Linked DNA regions of Homo sapiens: all the other regions are linked to region 2. Evidence: promoter capture Hi-C in 16 types of primary human blood cells and fetal thymus (Javierre and others, 2016). All regions are on one chromosome and are shown on one strand. The core of a region is centred on a gene start or on the middle of the fragment in contact, and the rest is flanking DNA. Distances in the headings are between cores, read along the strand shown.

Region 1 (5,985 bases), core at 335-2,834, 270 kb before region 2:
TTTTGTTTTTTTTTTTTTTAATTTTTTTATTTGGGTAGGGAACATTTCTCTTTTGCCTTGTGGGAATTCACCACTTCTGCTTCTGTTTCATTGATCCTCTTTAGAATCTTTTTGGCATGGTCTATCAGATTCGCCTGTGAGAGCTGCTGATCGTTATCCAAGAGAGTGCAGATAACCTTTCTTAGAGCCTTAGGATAGATACCTGGTGGCAGTGGTGGGCAGATTTCAGCAGGGAGCAGGGCAGGGACTAAGCTTGGCAGGGCTAGTATTTCATGCAGTTGGGAACATAGGCAGGGTGGGGCTTCCCAGTGAGGGCCCTGGACTCTGAACCACAGGCAGCAGCAGCAGCAGCAGCAGCACTGAGAGCCCAATGCCAAGGAAGATGTGGTCAGTCCATCTCTCTGGCCACCTCCCTGAGCCTTGATCTACCCATCAGAGATGACACCTGGCCCCATGTAGCCTGTGTGTATTTTGGTTAGCTGAGTGCTTGTCTCTTCTCTCCACCTGGGGAAGCTCTCAGAGGGCAGGGCCCATGCCTGGTTCACTCTTGTGTCTTTCCCAGATGCCTCCAGAACCCAGTGTATCAGACCTCAATGAACATAGTGAATTATTACAGATTTTTTCTTCAGGTCCCCGTTATCAGTTGCAGAGTCAGTAGCTCTCCTGTGAACATCCATGTAATAAATTCCTTCTAAGATTTAGAACCTCAAGGAGATTTTCTCCCTTGTAAAACTAAAATTCTTCCTAAAAGAGGTAATATAATAGAAATAGTTCTTATCACTGGTTTTGGAGTTGGCAAACCCAGATCTAGCTCTTGGCTCTCTTGTTTACCAGCTTAGTGGCCTTGGGGAAGCTGCTGAATAATTTTTTCATCTGTAAAATGGGGATAGTAATACATAGGACACAGCTGTTGTGATGAATACATTTGATACTGATATTAAAATTCTTATTGTAGCTGACTAGTGCATGGTGGATACTCAGAAAGTGAAAATGCTTTATCCCAATAGTTGTGAACTGGTGTCACCAACAACAGTAATAGGAAGGTACATCTTGTTTCCAGTATTTCAATAAGCTTTATATTTACTCATGGTGGGGGTCATTCAAAACATTCTTTAATAAATGAGGTTGAAAGAGAAACTCTAAAAACTTGTAGGCCTTGAAGATGGAAAATAATAAACATCATTGTTGGTGGACCAAGGCTGGGAAACATTAATATAATCTACCCTATTGCTGTCCTTTACTTCACGGAAGCAAATTGTAAATTTAGTGCTTAGAACATGGTAATGATCTCATCCTGATTTATCTAGGACAATTATCTCTCCTTTTATATGGTTTTGCCCTATTTTTATTTGGACTACTCTGTGTACATTGCTATTGGTGTTTTTTATTGTAAGCAATCTAGCATCTTTTAAGGAAGCCACTAGTCTATGAATCTATATGAACAAAAGCAAAAACAAAGACAAATAAAATCCCAAAGCACTCAAACATAGGTTCTTATCATGAACTAAATAGATTCTTGGACAGTATTCATAGCCTGTCTTCAAAATGGAAATTTCCATATATGTTTTTGAAAACAGCATTTTGAACTTTCCTAAAAGCATTAAATATAAATAATGTGATGTTGTAGAAAGAATGCTAGCCTGGGAATCAAAAAGATGGAGATCTTTGATTTGATTCTGTCACTGTCTGGTGGTGGTGTTTGTATTGGTGAGGGCTTAGTTTTAAAAAGGAATATCCTCTCTGGCTAGTTAAGCAAAAAAAAAAGGAATTTATTAAAAGGAGCCTGGGTGGTTCACAGTGTCTTTGGAAGGGCTGGAGAAACAAGCTCAAGGCTGAACTATAGGAACAGTGCCCAAAACAGGGCTGTAGAACTTGTCTGATGAGAAAATGACCTCTGTTACCACCACCCATGACTCATTGCTGCACTTGCATTGCTGCCAAGAACTTGATTTTACCACAGCCATAACTACCACTATTTCTGGCAATCGTCCTTTACCACCCCTGAAGGCTGGGCTCCTTTGACACCAAACGTGGCCCACCCTGAGCTGCTTTTCTTCTGTTAATCCCTTCTGAGGCACAGTCTTAAGTAAGCTTCCCTGATTGGTAGAGAGCCTGGGTCACCTGCATATTTCTAACTGCAAGGAAGTCTGGGAAATTGAGCTCTGACCTCTATGTTGGGGTGGTAGGAAACTTACGTGGGAATTTCCCCAAATATAGAAAGGCTATTTAAAAGATAGCCTTTGTAGAAAGTTTCAGTTAGACAGGATGAATAAGTTCTGGAGATCTGGAGATCTATTGTACATCATGGTGACTATAGTGAATAATGATGTATTATATACTTGGATTGCTAAGAGAGTAGCTCTTAAATGTTCTCACCACAAAAAAATAAGCATGTGAGGTGATAGATATGTGAGTTAGCTTGAGTTAATTACTTCTAAATGTATACCTGTATCAAAACATTACATTATGTGCTGTAAATATATACAATTTTATTTGTCAATTATACTTTAATAAAGCTGGGGGGAAATTGAATAAATAAAAGATACCCTTTTCATTTGCCATGAATATTGCAGGGATAGTAAATCCAAACCAACATGAGCCAAACAGGGAACACGAATATATGTTGACAACAGGGACAAAGCACCTACCTAGTTTTAGTACTTTGAAAATATTGTTTTGACTCGCCAAGCAGCTAAACAAGAGGCAAAGCCCTCCCCTACGCTTGGCTACTTTTGCAATCTCTGATGAACTTTTCTGAGTTTCCATTGCCTTAAATGAAGGTATTGGATTAAAAACAGGTTTATAGGTTGAAAGCTGGCAGTTATATTTTGTATGGCTTTTGTTTAATGTTTTTAAAATTGGGAGTTTAAACCTAAGAATATATATATCTGGTGCCTCTTGGAAAATAGAAATTGGACCCACATTTCTCTATGGCAACAATCTTTTGGGGGTGAATGGCACTTGCCCTCCTTAGATAGAGCCTGTTCTCTGCATTTCTTCTCAGTTTCTACAAGTCCTTATTGTCTCACGCTAAGGCACTTTCTCCTATTTATCTTACATACCTACCCCAGTAGGTACTAGACTAGGTAATTCTTGGATTAGATCATATAAGGCACCTCCCAGACATAAAATTCCATTATTTTGTTACTCTAGGTATTGTGGAAATAGGCATTTAGGAATCACTGTATAAATAGTTCAAAATAGAACTGAAGACTAATTTTTTAAAATTAGAATCCAAATATGATTGTATACTTGGAAAATCCAAAGGAATCAATTTTAAAATGGTTGGAACTATTAAGAGTATTCAGGAAAGTAGCTAAATATAAGAAAGCTATATATAGAACAATAGCTTTACTTTATATCAGCAATAACTAGTTAAGAAGTGTTCTGAAAAGGGGAATACTATTTGCTGTAGCAACAAAAATGAAATATCTGGGAATAAATTGGACAAGAAGCGTGAGACTAAAATGAATGCAATTTTTAAACTTGATATCTCTGAATGGGAAGACAATATTGTGAAAATTCTAATTTTCCAAATTTATAGATTTGAAGCAATTCCAATCAGAATTGCACAGCAGGTTTTTGCTCTTGCTGTTGTTAGATTTGGTTTTGTTTAACAGGGTTAAGGGAGATAAATTGACTGATTGATTATGAAGGTTCATCAAGAAGAATAAGGGGTTGAGAATATCCAAGAAAATGTTGAAAAGAATATTAAAATGTAGATACTAGAAAGGTATATGATTTACATACATTTGAAAACATTTTCTAGCAGAGAAACAAAAATATCAGTGAAATACAGTGTAGAGTCTATAGAAGAGCTATTTTTATGAACTTTCGTATAAGTATGGAGAACATTTCAAATCAGTAGAGAAAGAATGGATTATTAATAAAGATTTGGTGACAGTCAACTAGAAAATGCCTTTATACGCTTATTTTGTGGTGGAGCACAGTTTCCAAAAGCCATAAAGGAAAGATTATATTGACTACAGAAGAATTTTATCTCTCTCTATGGCAAAAGCTATCACAAACTTAAAAGACAAGGGACAGACTAAGAGAAAATATTTATAACCAGTGTAAGAGCCAGGGGATTAACATTAAGTACTTAAGAACTCCTATAAAATCAACACACAAAAATGGATCAAAGGCAGGAATAGTTCACAGAAGAAATACAAATAGTCTTTAAACCTATGAAAAGATGCCCAATAATGACACAAACTGAAACAATGATGAAATATTATTTCCACTTACTATATTGGCAACATTTAAAAAGAATAATATAACTGACTCCAGGTGAACATGTGTGGTAACAGGTACTCTCATTTTCCACTGATAGGAGTTTAAATTGGTTCAGCATTTTGGAGGGCAATCGGCAGAATGTGTCTAATGTTTAGACTCTTACCTGGTAGTTGCACTTGTAGAAATTTTTTATTTGAAAAAAATTTGGACAGGTGGATTGATAAATATATGTGTATGTGCATGCACAATATTTATTGCAGCAAATTTTGTAATAGTAAACATTTAGAAAAATAAAATGCCCAACAATAGGGAAATAGTTGGATATATTCTATTGCATTAATTTCAGACAATATTTTTTAGCCATTAGAAAGAGGTAGACCACATAGGCATAACAGAAAAAATGTTTGATGTATCAGTTAGGATTGTCTAAGTAATGCTGCAGTAACAACAACCCCTGAACCTCAGGGAATTAAACCAACCAAGGTTTATTGTTTGCTGACTTTATGTATCCATTGTGGTTGTCAGGGGAATTTTGTTCATAGTAGCCACTCAGAGACTGAGGCTGACAGAATAGCCACTACCTTGAATGTTCGCAGTCACATTGCCATAAAGGAAAGAGAATTTTGGAGGGTCAAGTACAACAAATTCTTACTTGGCAAGAAATACATATCATTTACACTCTCAATTTATTGGCTAGCACTAGTCACAGGACCCCACTCATGTGCTCAGAAGAAGGAGGGAAACCAGATCTTGGTGAACAGCTATGAGTGGCTACCACATATGTGTTGTGCTGTTTTGTAGATAAAGCAAAATCCAGAAGTGTGTTAATATCCTACTTATGCCAAAAATGTAAAAGTTGTGTGTGCATGTATATTTATATAAATATTTCAAGGAATGTATATCCTTTGAAGAAATGCTAGCAGGCTACACACGAAGCTATTAGTGGAGTATGCTTCATTCCTTGATTTTTACTTTTTTTTACAATGAGCAATTATTTTTTAAAACTTCAATTTAAATAAAATAAAACCCAAACAAATAAAACCAAAAAGCCTGGGAAAAGAGCTTATGGAACAGTTTTTCAGAAAGAACATTTTTTATTTCTTGCTTCAGTTTCCAGAAACAGCTAATGGCAGATGCTGGCAGAATGTTCTGAGCAAAAGTCAAGAGGCTTGGAATCATAGAGTAGCGCACAGGTTGCTGTAGTTGGTACTCTACCTACTCTGATTATTGACTACAGTCACATAATTGTAATGTGCTTACTTAAAATTCTTATTTTAGGGGCCACAATATTTTATGTTTCTGCAATTACAAAGTTTCAGAGGTTTAAAGTTAAGTTTTGAGATGAAATAGTTTTTATAATTTTCAAATTCCTATCAAATTAGCATGTTTTACCCATTCATTTTCTCCAACATTTTATGAAAATTTTAAAACATCCAGAAAATTTGGCAAGATTAAACAGTGGACACCCCATATATCCACCACTGTGCCATTAACCTCTTAACTTTACTTGCTTTGTCACACATCTCTCCATTTATACATTCTTATATCCATCTATTAACCCATCTTAATTTTCGTGCATTTCAAAGAAAATCATAGACATCAGTTACCTCCCTCTAAATATTTTAGCATGCTTACTATTTATTTATAGTTTTTCTTTTGATGTGAAATTTATGTTCAATAAAATGCACAAACTTTATACATTTGCTGGGTTTTGACAAATGTACGCTTGTGCAACCCAGATCCCTACTA
Region 2 (5,854 bases), core at 2,314-4,813:
GAAGCTAAAATGTGAAGTATTGAGAGTAAACCAGGAGAGCAGATGGTTATTCCTTCCATCCCTTAAGGATCTTATCTTTCAAACTTCTGCTTTACCACTTCAACACACAAAACAGAGATAGATTTCCTTCTAGGAGTGTGTGTGTGTGTGTGTGTGTGTGTGTGTGTTGAGAACATCAATGGTTCAATAATTGCTTCATAGTCTTTTCTTCCAGGAAAGAGCATTTGAATTTGGCTACAGAGAATAGATAGGTGGGATTTTATTAGGCAGAGCAAGGTGGAAAGGACATATTTGGGAGACAGAAGACATAAGCAAAGGCAAGAGGCAGGAGAATTCAGGGCACTTTCTTGGACTCCTAAGTAGTTAAGTTTGACTGGAGTAGGGAGTGGGTAGTAGAGTGATGAGAATAGTTGTAAGTAAGACTGGAAATACATGTGAAACCTGGGTCATGAAGGGCCTTGACTCCTCTTCAAGATTTTGGATTTTATTCTGAACTACTGAAGGCATTTATTGTACATGTCTGTGCATTCTTCTTGCACAAACAGTCCAGCTCCCAAGGAAGAGGGGCCCAGCCCATTGGAGGTGGCCCCACGTCCTTCAGTGCCTGGAGTTCTTGTCCTTCAGAGTGGGCTGGGGGTGGAGCTGGACATCCTGAAAACTTTTAGTGAGATTGCAATCAGATGAGCTCATTTACAAATGGCCCTACGCTGTTGACTTGGTCATTTTATGGACAGTGCTAATGGCCCAGTCAGTTAGGCCTACGTTTGGTTCACCTGTGTATACATCACTTGGATATTATGTCCCATATCATTGTTGGCCCTTCTGAGTTAAGTTCGTTGGCACAGATTTACTTTGTCCACCCAGACTGAAACTGCACCTCTGAAGACTCCATCACGGAAGGTGACTCTGTGAATAACTGCTTAGTCAACCTAATAGATGATCTAGATGAGAGATTAGCAAATTTAACACTACTCCAAGGTGAGGTATCAAGCAGCTCTTCCCACATACAGGGAGATGGGGGGAGAACAGACTAAGGAAGATCTTGGACTCTCTCTCTCATTAGAGAAATGGGGGTGGGAATTAGGGACTAGCCTGTGTACTACTGACCTATGGCATAGTCTCTCAAAACCCATTTCAGAGCCAGGCACAGTGGTACATGCCTGTAGTCCTGGCTACACAGGAGGCTGAGGCAGGAGGATCCCTTGAGCTCAGGAGTTTAAGGCTGTAGTGTGCTATGATCATGCCTGTGAATAACCACTGCACTGCAGCCTGGACAACATAGCAAGACTCTGTCTCTAAAAACAAAACAAAACAAACAAACAATCATTTCTGATAGTTTACTTTGCCTGTCAAAATGAAGAGCAGGTAGGATAGAATCAAAAGCTTTAAAAAAATCAAAACAGCTTACAGCTGCTATTTTCTCTCTGCCTCTGCGATCATTCAGAGAAAATAAATTCACTGGTCTAGTCCAACTTATTCTTCCCTAAGCCCTGCTGTTTTTTTTTTCTAGTATTTCATATTGCCTTGGTGGTTGCTAAGTGATTGTTGGATTTAGCCCCAGTATATTCTCAGATAACTATGCCAATAATCTATAATTACCAGAATTCATCTTTTCTCCCTTTTGGAAAGATGGACTGGCTATTTTTTTCTTGTAAACCTTGGGTGTTTAATTCTGCCCTACAGGATGATGTCAGAGATAATAGCTGGTGAGTCTTTAATAATAACTGCGAATTCCTACAATATTGTAAGGTAAACGTCAAAAGGTTTCATGCATATATATGTATCTTTTAATCTTTCATTTGAACAGTTTCACTTTTTATGATCTTGCTGTTGGTTCTGGAATTATAGGACAAATTTTTCTTTTCTTTTCTTTTCTTTTTGAGACAGGGCCTTGCTCTGTCACTCATGCTGGAGTACAGTGGCTTGATCATAGCTTCCTGCAGCCTCTAATTCCTGGGTTCAAGTGATCCTCCTGCCTCAGCTGCCAAAGTAGCTGGGACTACAGGTGCACATCACCACGCCTGGTTAACTTTTTATTTTTTTTTTTAGAGACACGGTCATGCTATGTTGCCCAGGCTGGTCTCAAACTCCTGGGGTCAAGTGATCCTCCTGCCTCAGACTCCAAAGTGTTGGGATTATAGGCATGAGACAATACACCTGGCCCAGGGGATTTTTTTCTCCATCACTTAACATGAAATTCACCAAGCAAAACCTCTTACATAACCATGGGACCAATAATCTCAGATTCTCCATTCCCCTCCCCACCTTGATATTAGGATTATGCAGCTTAATGAGTCAAGCTGTCCCACCCTACCCACCTATTACTCCCACTCCCAGGATACCAGGAGTTTTGTATGGGATACATAAATGATCCTTTTTTCCATTCCGTTAAGCTGTATGCAAATTGTGTGTGTGCTTATGTACATTTTTCTGGGGATAACTTTGGTAGTTTTCATCAGATTCTTAAAGGTGTCTGTTTGCTAAAGCCAGATTAAGAGCTACTATAAAGAACACATAGCCTCCGTTATTCCAGCCCAATCTTTGGAAATAGAGATTATCAGAATGGGTACATCCTAATATTTGCCGCAAATGACTCTGAAGATGCGGATGCAATTACATAAATCCCAGGCTCCTTCAACATATAAACCCAGAAGTGTGATTTCAGGGCCCCAGACATGCCCTGTCTCTACTTCATTCTCTTGTCCCAAATTGCAGCACCCAGAATATTTCTTCCTAAGCATTACTCAGGCTATCCTATTTTCTTATTCAGAAACTATATTCCTGTTCTTTAGCTATTTCCTGCACAAATCAATTTCTTTTTTTTTTTTTTTTTTTTGGTAGTCATTTTAATTTACTTCTTGGTTTCAATTTGGATTGACTTTCTGCATTTTGCTACTGGTAGAATTGCAATGCATTGGGCCAGTGGTAGACCACTACCTGTCAGGAGAAATTTCTTTTGTTCTTTGGTTTTTACTCGCACATCACAGTGATGGGCGTCATTCAGTGGTTCTAAACCCTCAGTACACTTAGAAATCACCTAAGAAGCTTTGAAAACCATGAAAGCCTGGTCCCTATCTCCAAGGATTTTAATTCAATCGATCTGAATGAGGCCTGGGTGTTGACTTAAAAAAAATGCAACATGCATTGAGCCACTGGTCTAATCTAGCAGGAATTGGCAACGAGTGTGAGGGTCTTTCAAAAGATGCTGTTTTACCTGGCTAAGGTTGTGGCATGCCCACAGAGTAACCACCTCCTTTTCTTTCCCCAGATGGTGCTCCTGGCCAGGTGCGAGGGGCACTGCAGCCAGGCGTCACGCTCCGAGCCTTTGGTGTCGTTCAGCACTGTCCTCAAGCAACCCTTCCGTTCCTCCTGTCACTGCTGCCGGCCCCAGACTTCCAAGCTGAAGGCACTGCGGCTGCGATGCTCAGGGGGCATGCGACTCACTGCCACCTACCGGTACATCCTCTCCTGTCACTGCGAGGAATGCAATTCCTGAGGCCCGCTGCTGTGTGTGGCTTCTGGATGGGACAACTGTAGAGGCAGTTCGACCAGCCAGGGAAAGACTGGCAAGAAAAGAGTTAAGGCAAAAAAGGATGCAACAATTCTCCCGGGACTCTGCATATTCTAGTAATAAAGACTCTACATGCTTGTTGACAGAGAGAGATACTCTGGGAACTTCTTTGCAGTTCCCATCTCCTTTCTCTGGTACAATTTCTTTTGGTTCATTTTCAGATTCAGGCATTTTCCCCCTTGGCTCTCAATGCTGTTTGGGTTTCCAACAATTCAGCATTAGTGGGAAAAAGTGGGCCCTCATACACAAGCGTGTCAGGCTGTCAGTGTTTGGTGCACGCTGGGGAAGAATTTACTTTGGAAAGTAGAAAAGCCCAGCTTTTCCTGGGACATCTTCTGTTATTGTTGATGTTTTTTTTTACCTTGTCATTTTGGTCTAAGGTTGCCATTGCTGCTAAAGGTTACCGATTTCAAAGTCCAGATACCAAGCATGTGGATATGTTTAGCTACGTTTACTCACAGCCAGCGAACTGACATTAAAATAACTAACAAACAGATTCTTTTATGTGATGCTGGAACTCTTGACAGCTATAATTATTATTCAGAAATGACTTTTTGAAAGTAAAAGCAGCATAAAGAATTTGTCACAGGAAGGCTGTCTCAGATAAATTATGGTAAAATTTTGTAAGGGAGCAGACTTTTAAAGACTTGCACAAATACGGATCCTGCACTGACTCTGGAAAAGGCATATATGTACTAGTGGCATGGAGAATGCACCATACTCATGCATGCAAATTAGACAACCAAGTATGAATCTATTTGTGGGTGTGCTATAGCTTTAGCCGTGTCACGGGCATCATTCTCTAATATCCACTTGTCCATGTGAAACATGTTGCCAAAATGGTGGCCTGGCTTGTCTTCTGAACGTTTGGTTCAAATGTGTTTTGGTCCTGGAGGCTCAAATTTTGAGTTATTCCCACGTTTTGAAATAAAAAGAGTATATTCAAAATTTTGACTGTTTAAGTATTTTTTTCCTACTTGATATCCTACTATCATGTGGACTAGAACATACATGTAGCTAGTGCTTGAGCATCTCCTATGATATAGTAAAAGAGTCAAAAAAAAAAAAAAGGAGACAGAAATGGGGTTCCAGAATGCATTGTGGGAACATTTTTTTGAAATCAATGTAACAAGGTGTTGAGGGCTTATTAAATTTGACTCTGAGTTTTAGATTTTAGCCCATTGAATAAACACAAAATCTAATGCATTTTGGCTTCCTTGGAAGCTATGGAATGAAACAGAGGAGTCCCCTCCTTTTTAATTTCTTCACTTTTCTCAGAAGAAAATAAATATCCATAAGTGAAGTTGGAAGAACCAGCAGAAGGACAAATAGTTAACAACATTTCTGTGCCATTGACTGTGCAGTGCTCAGGATCGAATGATATTACTGGGCATTACAAGAATACTCATGATGTTAGCACAGTGCTATGTCCCTCTTAGGTATCTCAATACAAATCCAGACTTGGCAATTCAGTTTCCAGGGCAACCTTGTCCTGGTTAACTAGAGATGATATTAACTCCCCCACTGTTAGTACAGCCAACCTGTGAATTACTTTTCCAGTAGAGATAATGGTTTTGAACACTCTTTGGCACAGCTTTCACACATTCTTAAGAAAGCCAGCAGGGTTATACTTGTATTCATGGCTTTGAAACAGAATGAAACTAATGCTATTAAATCTTGACCTTGATCTTAATCTCTGTGGTGACACAGCCAGCCAGTCTCCTAAATTGGAGGTTCTCCTCATTCTGAAGGCAAATGCGAAATGGCAGTTTGGACCATTACATGAAGAATTTTGTCATAAATGGAATTAAATTTAATACTGAAAGTTAAATGGTTATAATTTTTAACTGATAATGAAAGTATTAACTGTTGGTCACATTTATGACTGTTCTTTCATGTTGCTAATCAAAAAGTGAAAAATAATACTTCCAGCCTTAAAAAGTATTTTCTGGGCCTTAAAAACTCAATTTTCTTTGAGAATCTATAATCTATACCCTAAACTCTAGTCTTTATTTCCTTCTACCAATTTGGGACTACAGGGGGCAGTTATATGACTCATATCTTCCAAATTCTCTGGAAGCCATAGAAAATAGTCCCTTCAAATCCCATTACATGGTCTATTGACAAAGTTTCCCCCATGGAAATGAGCAGAATATACTTGGAGCATTAAAGAATCACAGGACAGTGGCCTTGGAAGAACTATTAGAAAGCATACATCCTCTTCTCTCCTTAAATACATGAGCAAATGGAGGCCTGTAGAAATCCAGGAACTGGCTGAAAGTC
Region 3 (5,980 bases), core at 57-2,556, 420 kb before region 2:
AAATATTTAAGGGAGGAATGAACACATTTCTACCAGATTGTAAGTTCCTGAAAAGCGGGGGTGGTGGTTCTCTTAGATTGCATGCTGTAAAGTGCCCACTAAGTAATCCTTCAATTAGGTACATCTGTTAAATGCCATTGATTGGAATTAACTTTTCAGTTGGGCACATCTGAATGCAGTGGAAAGCTTATTTCAGGATTTAAGAAATATTTGCATCACTTTAAAGGAGCTTATTAAATTCTAAAAAAACATCCAATTTAAAAGCCTTTTTATTGAACCAAGAGTGAAAGTAATGAAAACCAATTTCGTGAAGTTAAAAAAACAGTGAGACTCTTAATAATAATTGTTTTTGAACTCCCTATTGCTTGACTCAATACATTTTGTCTCTAGGTAAAACTTTTCCATCCTCCTGGGAACTCCCTAGCCAATCCCAAAGTTACACAATAATTGAAGTTGTTAACTACTCTGCCAAGTGCAGATCATTTGCCTGGGAGTTTGAATCACTTTTAAAACTTGCTAATATTGCTTGTGGTGAAGGAACACTTCATGGATGGTTCAGAAAATTCCTGCAGATTCACTTCAGGTTTTTTTCTCAAGTTAAATTAAACTATTATTAAATTTCATATGTTTTGTTAGACATAGCATGTCTAGTCCAACTGTATTCTTATGAAATTACTTCGGGGTGTCTGGATGTGTTATATTCTCTATATCCATCATTGGATCTGTTGACATTGGCTAATTCCACCTGATGAGACTCTGGGGGATTTGTACTTTGATGTATTTCTTGAGTTTTTAAAAATAAAGAGCATTTCTCATTTTTATAAAATCAATTATGTCATTACTTGATTTAAAAAATTTTACTCTCTGTGTTTCAGATTCAATTCAGACAACAAAAGCCTATTGAGTTTCTACTATATGCTAAGATGCAACGTTGAACAGGATGGGGTCTATTCCCTCAAGGACTTTTTAGCTCAGCTGGAGAGAAAAACATATTCATGGACAAAACATGTATGCTGGCAGTATGCACAGGGGACAATGGGAACAGAGGAGGAGGTCTCTTAGAAGAGAGAGCCCTGGCATGACAAGGAGGACAAATAGTAATTGACCAGGAGGCTGGGGGCAGGAAAGGCAGAGGTTCCAGCATGAGCGAAGGGTTAGAGATAAGAAACGACGTGGTTTATATGGCTCACTGCAAGCCTCGCTAGGATTACTGGTGAATAACGTGCTTTTTGAGACAAGGTCTTGCTCTGCCACCCAAGCGATCTTCTCACCACAGCCTCCTGAGTAGCTGGGACTACAGGCGCCCAGTTCATTTCTATACATTTTGTGGATAGATACAGTCAGTATAGGTACAGTGCTGGGTATAGTCAGTATGGAAAGATACTAGAGAGGTGTCCAAAGGCCAGCTCAAGAAGGGCTTCTTCGCTACTCCAAGCCAGCCATGCCATGCTAGGGAGCTTAGCAGGAAATGAGGCACCATGGAAGGGTTGTGAAAAAGAAAGTGACGTGGTCAGATTTGCAATTTAGGTAAATCATTCAGGTGGTACCAGGTATGGATGCGAGGCAGGCAAGACTAGAAGCTGAGACCGCTTGGGAGGTCTTTTGCTACGATTCTTAGATTGAATTAAAGCAATGAAAGCAGGAGTAGAGAAATGAGTGGTGGGTTTGAAGCATATTTTAGTGGGTGGAATTACCAGGGCTTGGTGTTTGATTGCTGTGGAGGGTGAGAGGAGAGCCATAGGTTCATCCTCAGGTTTCTGGTTGTGTGTCTTTTGCTGAGATGAAAGACAGGAGATAAATTTCAGGGGAAAGTGTAATGAGCACTGTTTTGGACTTTTTGGATTACAGGGGCCAATGGACCACCCAAGCGGGCCCATGCAGCAGGAATTTGGATGGGGTATTCTGTAGGGGAGGAAAAAATATTTTTTTTCTTCTACCCTCCTAGGTTCTCTGTTTGGGGCTCAATAAATTAGGTTGACAAAAGACAGATTAACAAGAGAAAAGCATACATATTAACTAAATATAAGTTTTATATGACATGAGAGTCTTCAGAAGGAAATGAAGAGCAAAGAAATCATTAAACCTGAGCATCTTTATACTGGTGTGATAAAGAGTGAAGAGTCATGAAAAAGTGTGATAAGATAAAGCGGTATAAGCTAAGGATAGTTAACCGGGGGAAATTTAGCAAGGCCTGTTCATTTGGATTCTTCTTGGTGTCCCATCTTCGGAGATAAGGATGCCTCTTTCTTCTAGGTCTAGGGAGGGCACCTCTCACATGAGGGTCTTCAGACCTGCTTCAGGGGAAGGTCAGAGAGTCCTTTCTGTACCTGCTGTTTCTCAAATTCTTTCAGCTTAAAATATTCAATATGCCAAGGTGCCATACTTTGGGGTAGCATGTTTTGAGCCCTATTGATTCTAAAGCTTAGGGGACATTTCTGGGCTAGGGCATAGATTAGGAAGCACTTATGGTTAAGTGCATGAGGTCAAGTCGTATCAATCAGAGAGCATGTTAAGAAGTTATAGACTGAGGATGAGAATCAGGGAGATTGAGAGAGGAGCGTGAAGGAGACACAGAAATAACATTCAGGGGTCATGAAAAGAGGCCCCAGAGAGTGCAATGCTATTGAAGCTGGGGCACTAGGGACTTTCTAGGAGGAACTAGTGGACCCCAGTGTCAACTGCTTCAGGACAATCTAGAAGGTAAAGACAGTAAATGTCTGGGCCAGGCACAGTGGCTCATGCCTGTAATCCCAGCATTTTGGGAGGCCTAGGCAGGTGGACCGCTTGAGGTCAGGAGTTCAAGAACAGCCTGGCCTACAAGGTGAAACACTGTCTCTACTAAAAATACAAAATTTAGCCAGGAGTGGTGGCATGCACCTGTAATCCCAGCTACTTGGGAGGCTGAGGCAGGAGGATCGCTTGAACCTGGGAGGTGGAGGTTGCAGTGAGCCAATATCGTGACACTGTACTCCAGCCTGGGTGACAGAGTGAGACACTGTCTTAAAAAAAAAAGACAGTAAAATGTCCATTGGGTTTGACAATCAGGGGTTCATTTGTAACCTTTGTCAGAGAGGTTGCAGCAGGTGAAAATAAATATTCTAACCTTGACCTGCACGAGGGCAGGCCTATGGGTAATGGGAGATTTATTTCCCAACTTAAGCCAGTCCAAGTCAATTAAGCATCTTTATACAGTCATGTGTTGCTTAACAACAGGGATAGGTTGTGAGAAATGCATCATTAGGGTGATAGGGTGCGGACATCATAGAGTGTCCTAACACAAACCTAGATGGTATCGCCTACTACACACCTAGGCTATATTGTATAGCTTATTGCTCCTAGGCTACAAACCTGTGCAGCATGTGACTCTACTGAATACTGTAGACAACTGTCACACAATGGTAAGTATTTGTATTTCTAAACATAGAAAATACATAGTAAAAATATGGTATAAAAGATAAAAAAAGATACACTTGTAAAGGACACTTACCGTGAACGGAGCTTGCAGGGCCAGAAGTTGCTCCTGGTGAGTGAGCGAGTGGTGAGTGAATGTGAAGGCCTAGGACATTACTGTACACAACTGTACACTTTATATACACTGTCCACTTAGACCACACTAAGTTTATAAAAATATTTTTTCTTGGCTGGGCACAGTGGCTCACGCCTGTAATCCCGGCATTCTGAGAGGCCAAGGTGAAAGGATTTCTTGAGCCCAGGAGTTTGAGACCAGCCTGGGTAACATGGCGAAAGCCCTGTCTCCACAAAATGTATAGAAATGAGATGGGCGCCTGTAGTCCCAGCTACTCAGGAGGCTGAGGTAGGAAGATCGCTTGGGTGACAGAGCAAGACCTTGTCTCAAAAAAAAAAAAAAAATTTCTTTTTATTTCTTCAATAATCAATTAGCCTTAGCTTACTATAACTCTTTTACTTTATAAACTTTTTTTTTCATTTTCCTTGTTTTTGAGATGGATTTTCACCCTTGTCGCCCAGGCTGGAGTACAATGGCACGATCTCGGCTCACTGCAACCTCTGCCTCCCAGGTTCAAGTGATTCTCCTGCCTCAGCCTCCTGAGTAGCTGGGATTACAGGCATGCACCATCATGCCCGGCTAATTTTGTATTTTTACTAGAGACGGGGTTTTACCATGTTGGCCAGGCTGGTCTTGAACTCCTGACCTTAGGTGATCCACCTGCCTTGGCCTCCCAAAGTGCTGGGATTACAGGCATGAGCCACCGCGCCTGGCCAACTTTTTCATTTTTTAAACTTTTTGACTCTTTTATAATAAAACTTAGCTTAGAACACAAACACATTGTACAGCTATACAAAAATATTTTCTTTCTTTACATCCTTGTTCTATGAGGTTTTCTCTATTTAAAATTTTTATAAATGATTTTTTTCCTTTTTATACTTTTTTGTTAAAAATGGAGACATAGGCACACACACTAATGTGTGCTAATGCCTAGGCCTACACAGGGTCAGGCTCATCCATGTCACTGTCTTCCACCTCCAATTCTTGTCCCACTGGAAGATCTTCAGGGTCAATAACACGCATGGAGCTGTCGACTCTTGTGATAACAATACCTTCTTCTGGATACCTCCTCAATCACTTGCCTGAGGCTGTTTTACAGCTAACTTTTTTTTTTCAATAAGTAGAAAGAGTACACTCTAACATAACAATAAAATCATTTTATAGTATAGTAAATCCGCAAACCAGTAACATAGTCATTTATTATCATTATCAAGTTTTAGGTACGGTACATAATTGTATGTGCTGGATTTTTATACAAGTGGCAGCGCAGTAGGTGTGTTTACAGCAGCATCGCCACAGGCATGTGAGTAATGCATTGTGCTATGGCATCACGATGGCTACTGCGTCACTAGGACAATAATAATTTTTCAGCTTTATTATAATCTTATGGGACCGCTGTCATATATGCAGTCTGGCATTGACTGAAATGTTGTTACGTAGTGCATGGCTGTATCGCCATTGCTGGTGTGGGGAGTGCATCTTAGGGTGCCATTCCACTCAGAGTGTAGCCCTTGTAGGATCCCAGCCTTGTTTGGGCCCCGGGCGTCTTTCTTGCTCCTGCAGCCTATAGACTTTAGTAGTGTCCTAGTTACTGAGGTTGAGAAACTAACCTGGGGTAGAGCAGCTGACACCATCATTGCCTGCTCACTACTCTGATTCTCAGTATCCTCTACATTTTTGGATCCTACGAGTTTCCTTACTTTCATCAAACTCAGCTATCTATTTAAAAGGAATTTATTGCTTTTTGAATCCAGGCTTTATACATGCCTCCTAGTGTTTAAAAGGATAGCTATTGTATAATATTGCCAGAAATGAAAGCATAGTTCTTGTTCTGTACATTTATTAAATACATCGCATGTACATAGTTTTTCTTTAGCCCCACGTCTATCTTATTTTGTTGCTTTACCACCTTGCCTTGAGTTCTTCCTTTATTAAATTCTTCTAAAGCCTAAAATACTCTTGTGGGGATTTTCTTTTCTATTCCTTGTTATGAGGTATTATTCATCCAGTATGTTGCCAGGTTCAGTTATTTTATTTTATTTTTGAGACAGAGTCTCCCTCTGTTACCCAGGCTGGAGTGCAGTGATGTGATCTCAGCTCACTGCAGCCTCCACCTCCCAGGTTCAAGCGATTCTCCTGCCTCAGCCTCCCGAGTAGCTGGGACTACAGTTGCACACCGCCATGCCCAGCTAATTTTTGTATTTTTAGTAGAGACAGGGTTTCACAGTGTTGGCCAGGCTGGTCTTGAACTCCTAACCTCAAGTGATCCGCCTACCTTGGCTTCCCTAAGTTCTGGGATTACAGGCATGAGCCACTGCACCTGACCCAGGTTCAATTTTCTAATATTTTATTTAAGATTTTAGCATCTATGTTATAAGTGAGATTGACTTGTAGCTTTTTTCTTACTCTTTTCTTCGTTAACTTTTCTCTTTCCCTTTTCCACTCCTTCCCTTC
Region 4 (5,553 bases), core at 1,807-4,306, 350 kb before region 2:
ATCCCCAAGTCTGGAATAAATGTTTTTGGAATAAAAAGAATGAGAATCATAAATGAGCCTTTTACTAAAGAAGAGAGTTCTTCCTTCCCTCTTTTCTAAAACCTAGAATTTAGCTATTTGACAACATTTTAAGGCCCTTCCCTCAGGCCAAAACTTTTTATCAGTAACTAGGCCTGTGGCTTATTCTGATTAGTCCAAAGTTAAAATTGTCTTTTTGAACTTTAACTTTTGTAGGTACCACTACATCCCCATTAGAATGGCTATAATTTTAAGACTCTTACCACTAAGTGTCGGTGATCATGTAGAGAAACTAGAACCTTCATACATTCCTGGTAGGAATGTAAAATGGTGCTGCCATTTTGAAAGACAGTTTGACAGTTTCTTAGTTAAACATATACTTGCTGCATGACCCAGTAATTCCACTTCTATGTATCCATCTAAAAGAAATTAAAACATGTTCACACAAAAACTTCTGTGTGAAATGTTTATAGCATCATTATTCGTAGTAGCCAAAAAACAGGGAACAACCCAAATGTCCCTTAAGTAATAATGGATAAACAAAATATGGTATATCTACATAATGAAAACTATACAACAATAAAGAAACCTAATGATATATATGTTACAACATGGGTGAACCTCAAAAACATTACACTAAGTAAAAGAAGCCAGACACAGAAGACTTCCTATTATATGATTCCATATATATGAAATCCTAGAAAAGGCAAATACATAGGAAAAAGCAGATCAGCAGTTGACTGGGGCTGATGGTGGGAGAGGGGACTTTTGTGGGGGAAGTGATAGAAATGTTTTAAACTGGATTGTGGTGATGATTACACAGCTCTGTAAATTTACAAAAAGCCATTGAACTGTATGCTTAAAAGTAGTAAATTTTATGGTATATAAATTACAGCTTAAAATATTAGTTTGTTTGGGTTGCCATTGTAACTGCCCAACTGGTTCACCATGCCTGCTGCCTAGACAGAGCCCATTTATCAAGATAGGGGAATTGTAATAGAGAAAGAGTTATTCACACAAAGCTGGCTGTTCAGGAGACCAGAGTTTTAATATTACTCAAATCAGTCTCCCACAAAACTCAGGAATTGGGTTTTTTAAGTATAATTTGGTCGGGGGGGGAGTGGGTTGGAAAGTGGGGAGTGCTGATTGGTCAGGTTGGAAATCATAGGGAGTTGAAGCTGTCCTCTTGCACTGAATTGTTCCTGGGTGGGGGCCACAAGGCCAGATGAGCCAGTTTGTCAATCTGGGTGGTGCCAGCTGATCCATTGAGTACAGGGTCTGCAAAATATCTCAAGCACTGATGTTAGGTTTTCCTTTTTTTTTTTTTTTTTTTGAGATAGAGTCTCACTCTATCACCCATGCTGGAGTGCAGTGGCGTGATCTTGGCTCACTGCAACCTCCATCTCCTGGGTTCAAGCGATTCTCCTGCCTCAGCCTCCCAAGTAGCTGGGACTACAGGCGTGTGCCACCACGCCCGGCTAATTTTGTGTATTTTTAGTGTAGATGGGGTTTCACTGTGCTGGCCAGGATGGTCTCGATCTCCTGACCTCATGATCTGCCCGCCTTGACCTCCCAAAGTGCTGGTGTTACAGGTGTGAGCCACTGTACCTGGTGATGTTAGGTTTTATAATAGTGATCTTATTCATCCCCAGGAGCAATTTGGGGAGGTTTAGAATCTTGCAGCCTCCAGCTATATGACTCCTAAACCATAATCACTAATCTTGTGGCTAATTCGTTACTTCTGCAAAGGCAGTCTAGTCCCTAGGCAGGAAGGGGTTGTTTTGGGAAAGGGCTAGTATGTTTTTGTTTCAAAGTTTAACTATACACTAAGTTCCTCCTGAAGTTAGTTTGACCTATGCCTCAGAATGAACAAGGACAGCTTGGAGGTTAGAAGCAAGATGGAGTTGGTTAGGTCAGATCTCTTTCACTGTAATAATTTTCTCAATTATGATTTTTGTAAAGACGATTTCACCATAACAAAATACTACAGACTGGGTGGCTTAAACAGAAATTTTTTTTCTCACAGTTCTGGAGGCTGGAAGTCCAAGGTCAAGGTGCTGGCAGGGTTGGTTTCTCCTGAGGCCTCTCTTCTTGTCTTACAGATGACTACCCTCTTGCTGCCTCATCCTCTGTGCACACTAATTATAGTTATTTTGAACATAAAATCCTTGTCATTTATAAGATTTTAGTTCACAAATTAGGAAGAAACTGATAGTCACTATTTGACTTGTTGACTTAAATTTTAGGCTGATTTATATTTTGTTCTGAACTTTTAATCTATAAAAGTCATGGTTATTTATGTATTCTTCCCCCCCGAGTTCAAACCAGCTGCAAGTTTATTTGAAATATTAAAAAAAAAATTATTTACCTTCCTTTATTTTGTATTTGCAGGACTCTGCCCTATGGTAAACTCACTTTTTGTAACGCTGATGGTGGGTGATAGCACAAATGCCATAGACCATATAATCTAGCTGTATTCTTAAAAAAATTTTTTTTAAAGTAATTTTGGACTCACAAAAAGTCACAAAAATAGTACAGAGAGTTCCTGAATACCCTTTTCACAGCTTTCCCCGATGATAACATCTTATATAACAGTTTGATATACCTTATCAAAACCAGGATTTTACCTTCTGCAACATGGTAAAACAAGAACAAAAATGCAGGAAATCAGCATTGGCATTGTGAACCCCAAAGTATCTGAGACAGGTCTCAATCAATTTAGAAAGTTTATTTTGCCAAGGTTAAGGATGTGCCTGTGACAGCCTGAGGAGGTCCTGACGACATGTGCCCAAGGTGGTCGGGGTACAGCTTGCTTTCATACATTTTTAGTGAGACATAATACATCAATCAATATATGTAAGATGTACATTGGTTTGATCTGGAAAGGCGGGCCAACACAAAGCCGGGGAGAGGCTTCCAAGTCACAGGCAGATTCAAAGATTTTCTGATTGGCAATTGGTTGAAGGAGTTATTATCAATATAAAGGAATGTCTGGGTTATGATAAGGGCTTGTGGAGACCAACGTTTTATCATGCAGATGCAGCCTCCAGGAAGCAGGCTTCAGACAGAATAGATTGTAAATGTTTCTTATCAGACTTAAGGTCTGTGTTGACGATAATGCTGGTCAACTTTTCCTGAATTCCAAAAGGGAGGAGGGTATAATAAGGAATGTCTGGTTCCCCCTTCCCATCATGGCCTGAAACTAGTTTTTCAGGCTAACTTGGGAATGTCCTTGGCCTAGAGGAGGGATCTGTTCAGATGGCTGGGGGGCTTAGAATTTTATTTTTGGTTTACAGTATAATACTATTAACTAAACCGCAAACTTTATTTGGATTTCACCAGTTTTTACATGCACTCACTTTTTCCCCCTTAGTTTAACAGTCCTGTGGAATCTTATCCCATATATAGATTCATGTAACCACCACCATGTTCAGGATACAGAATAACTGTGTTCTTTAGGATTTTGCTGTTTGAGTCCTCATTTATTGAGGTAAACTTCATTTTAATTCTTAAAATCAACTTTATTGAGGTATAATTTATATGTAATAAAATGAGCCTTTTTTTTTTTTTTTTTTTTTTTTTGAGACAGAGTCTCACTCTGTTGCCCAGGCTGGAGTGCAATGGCGCGGTCTCTGCTCACTGCAACCTCTACCTCCTGGGTTCATGCAATTCTCCTGCCTCAGCCTCCCAAGTAGCTGGGATTACAAACGCCCGCCAGCACGCCTGGCTAATTTTTGTATTTTTAGTAGAGACGGGGTTTCACCATGTTGGCCAGGCTGGTCTCGAGCTGCTGACCTCGTGATCTGCCTGCCTCAGCCTCCCAAAGCGCTGGCATTACAGGCATGAGCCACCACACCTGGCCAAAATGAGCCTATTTTAAGTATACAATTCCATTAGTTGTGACAAATGTATGCATCTGTGTAACCACCACCCCAGACACCGTCTAGACGTCTCTGTTGCCTCAGGAGGTTCCCTTATTCCCCCAATTCGTTTAGCCCTTTCCCATTGTTCTGACTTCTATCACCATAGCTTAGTCTTTCATTTTTTTCTCAGATTTCAGATAAACGGAATCTTATGGTGCATCTGCCCTGGAATCTAGCTTACTGTTTGAGATTTAAGATTTGAGGCGCAGCTTTGACAATGTGTATATAAACAAAGTGTAGCAAATTCATGTAATAATATACTATAACAGATTTCTGGGCATTTTACAGTCCTTTTTAGTCCTCTGGTTTGATATCCCTTTACTTTAAAACATTCTGCTTCAGTTTTTTCAAATTACTCTTCTAACCTCCTTCAGAGGTTTTAAAATACTTTAAGATGTTAATAACACCACATTATTCAAAGATATGAAGAAATGCTTATCTCCATTCTTTTTTCAATGTTGTCCCATTTCCTTTTCTTTTATTCCATCTCTCTCAACCTTCTTGTCCCTTCCCTTCTGGTGTTTTTTTTTTTTAATTTTATTTTTATTTTTATTTTTTTACCTTTTTTCTGTTTTCTTTTCTCTTTTATTGGACTTCTGTCTCTTCATCCTCATTCTCTTTACTTTCATCCATTTTTATTCATCTTCTATTGTGAGTGCCCTATTTAACTTTCTTCCTTTCCTTACTTTGTCTTCGCCTGTTTCTGGCCTTGCAGTTGCTGACTTCTCTTCTTAGGAGAGTATCATCATTGTTGTCATCATCATCATCATCGGTTTTTTTTTTTTTTTTTTGAGATGGAGTCTCGCTCTGTCGCCCAGGCTGGAGTGCAGTGGTGCAATCTCAGCTCACTGCAACCTCCACCTCTCGGTTTCAAATGATTCTTCTGCCTTAGCCTCCTGGGTAGCTGGGATTACAGGTGCACGCCACCACACCCAGCTAATTTTTATATATTTTTTTTAGTATAGATGGGGTTTCACCATGTTGGTCAGGCTGGTCTGGAACTCCTGACTTCGTGATCTGCCTGCCTCAGCCTCCCAAAGTGCTAGGATTACAGGTGTGAGCCACTGTGCCCAGCCCATCATTGATATTATTATTACTAGGGCCTTTCCCCTTCCCCTTTCCCCTAGGGCTGGACCCAGGGTATATATGTCTCTCCAAATGGAGTGTTGTCTGAAATTAACTCTGTGTGCAGTGTCTAGGGTGTTCTTTGGAAACATGGCCTGCCTGCAATACCTCCTTAATGAGAGGCTCTTTGGTATAGTAGAAAGAACAAGGCTTTTCAGTTAGACTGAGGTTTAGAACCTGGATTTACCATCTATTACCTATTTCATCCTGGCCATGTTTTTAACCTCTCTTAGCCTGAATTCCCTCATCTGTCAAGTGGGAATAACAAAACCCACCTTAGAGTTGCCGTGAGTATCAAATGGGTAATGCATGTCAAATGCCCAGGTCATAGTAGTCACGAAGAATTATTTCCTTACATGGGGTGGGGAGAGCAGTTTTCCTAGGGGAAGTGAAGCATAAGCTGGGACTATCCCAATGCTCATTTGTGCTACAGGATTCTTGCATTTTTCTTTGGGAAAAATTCTGGGATTTTCCAGAAGAATAAATT

The links. The method cuts DNA at HindIII sites, captures the fragments that hold promoters and counts their contacts. A CHiCAGO score of 5 or more calls a contact.
Region 1: a contact is called between a fragment that was not itself captured here and the fragment with the promoter of NDP-AS1 in region 2, in 2 of 17 cell types (M2 macrophages and naive CD4 T cells). The highest score is 6.4, in M2 macrophages.
Region 3: a contact is called between a fragment that was not itself captured here and the fragment with the promoter of NDP-AS1 in region 2, in 2 of 17 cell types (non-activated CD4 T cells and total B cells). The highest score is 7.9, in non-activated CD4 T cells.
Region 4: a fragment that was not itself captured here is called in contact with the fragment with the promoter of NDP-AS1 in region 2 in 4 of 17 cell types (total CD8 T cells, M2 macrophages, total CD4 T cells and 1 more); the score reaches 6.0 in total CD8 T cells.

The regions. Positions count from the first base shown.
Region 1 is chrX:44,219,285-44,225,269 of GRCh38, reverse strand. The region is part of intron 11 of EFHC2 (EF-hand domain containing 2); the gene reads left to right. Among named protein-coding and RNA genes, the nearest start is that of EFHC2, 120 kb to the left of the region's middle. The HindIII fragment of the contact is 1,019 bases long and covers 1,075-2,093 here.
Region 2 is chrX:43,947,441-43,953,294 of GRCh38, reverse strand. It overlaps NDP-AS1 (NDP antisense RNA 1), which reads right to left and starts at 3,563. Exons shown (of 6, transcript NR_046631.1): 1 at 3,215-3,563. NDP (norrin cystine knot growth factor NDP) reads left to right here. Exons shown (of 3, transcript NM_000266.4): 3 at 3,269-4,519. The coding sequence ends at 3,496. RefSeq lists enhancers at 2,852-3,368, 3,369-3,886. The HindIII fragment of the contact is 3,781 bases long and covers 3,048-5,854 here.
Region 3 is chrX:44,366,293-44,372,272 of GRCh38, reverse strand. No RefSeq gene overlaps it. Among named protein-coding and RNA genes, the nearest start is that of EFHC2, 26 kb to the right of the region's middle. The HindIII fragment of the contact is 2,235 bases long and covers 189-2,423 here.
Region 4 is chrX:44,296,908-44,302,460 of GRCh38, reverse strand. The region is part of intron 2 of EFHC2 (EF-hand domain containing 2); the gene reads left to right. Among named protein-coding and RNA genes, the nearest start is that of EFHC2, 44 kb to the left of the region's middle. The HindIII fragment of the contact is 6,252 bases long and covers 1-5,553 here.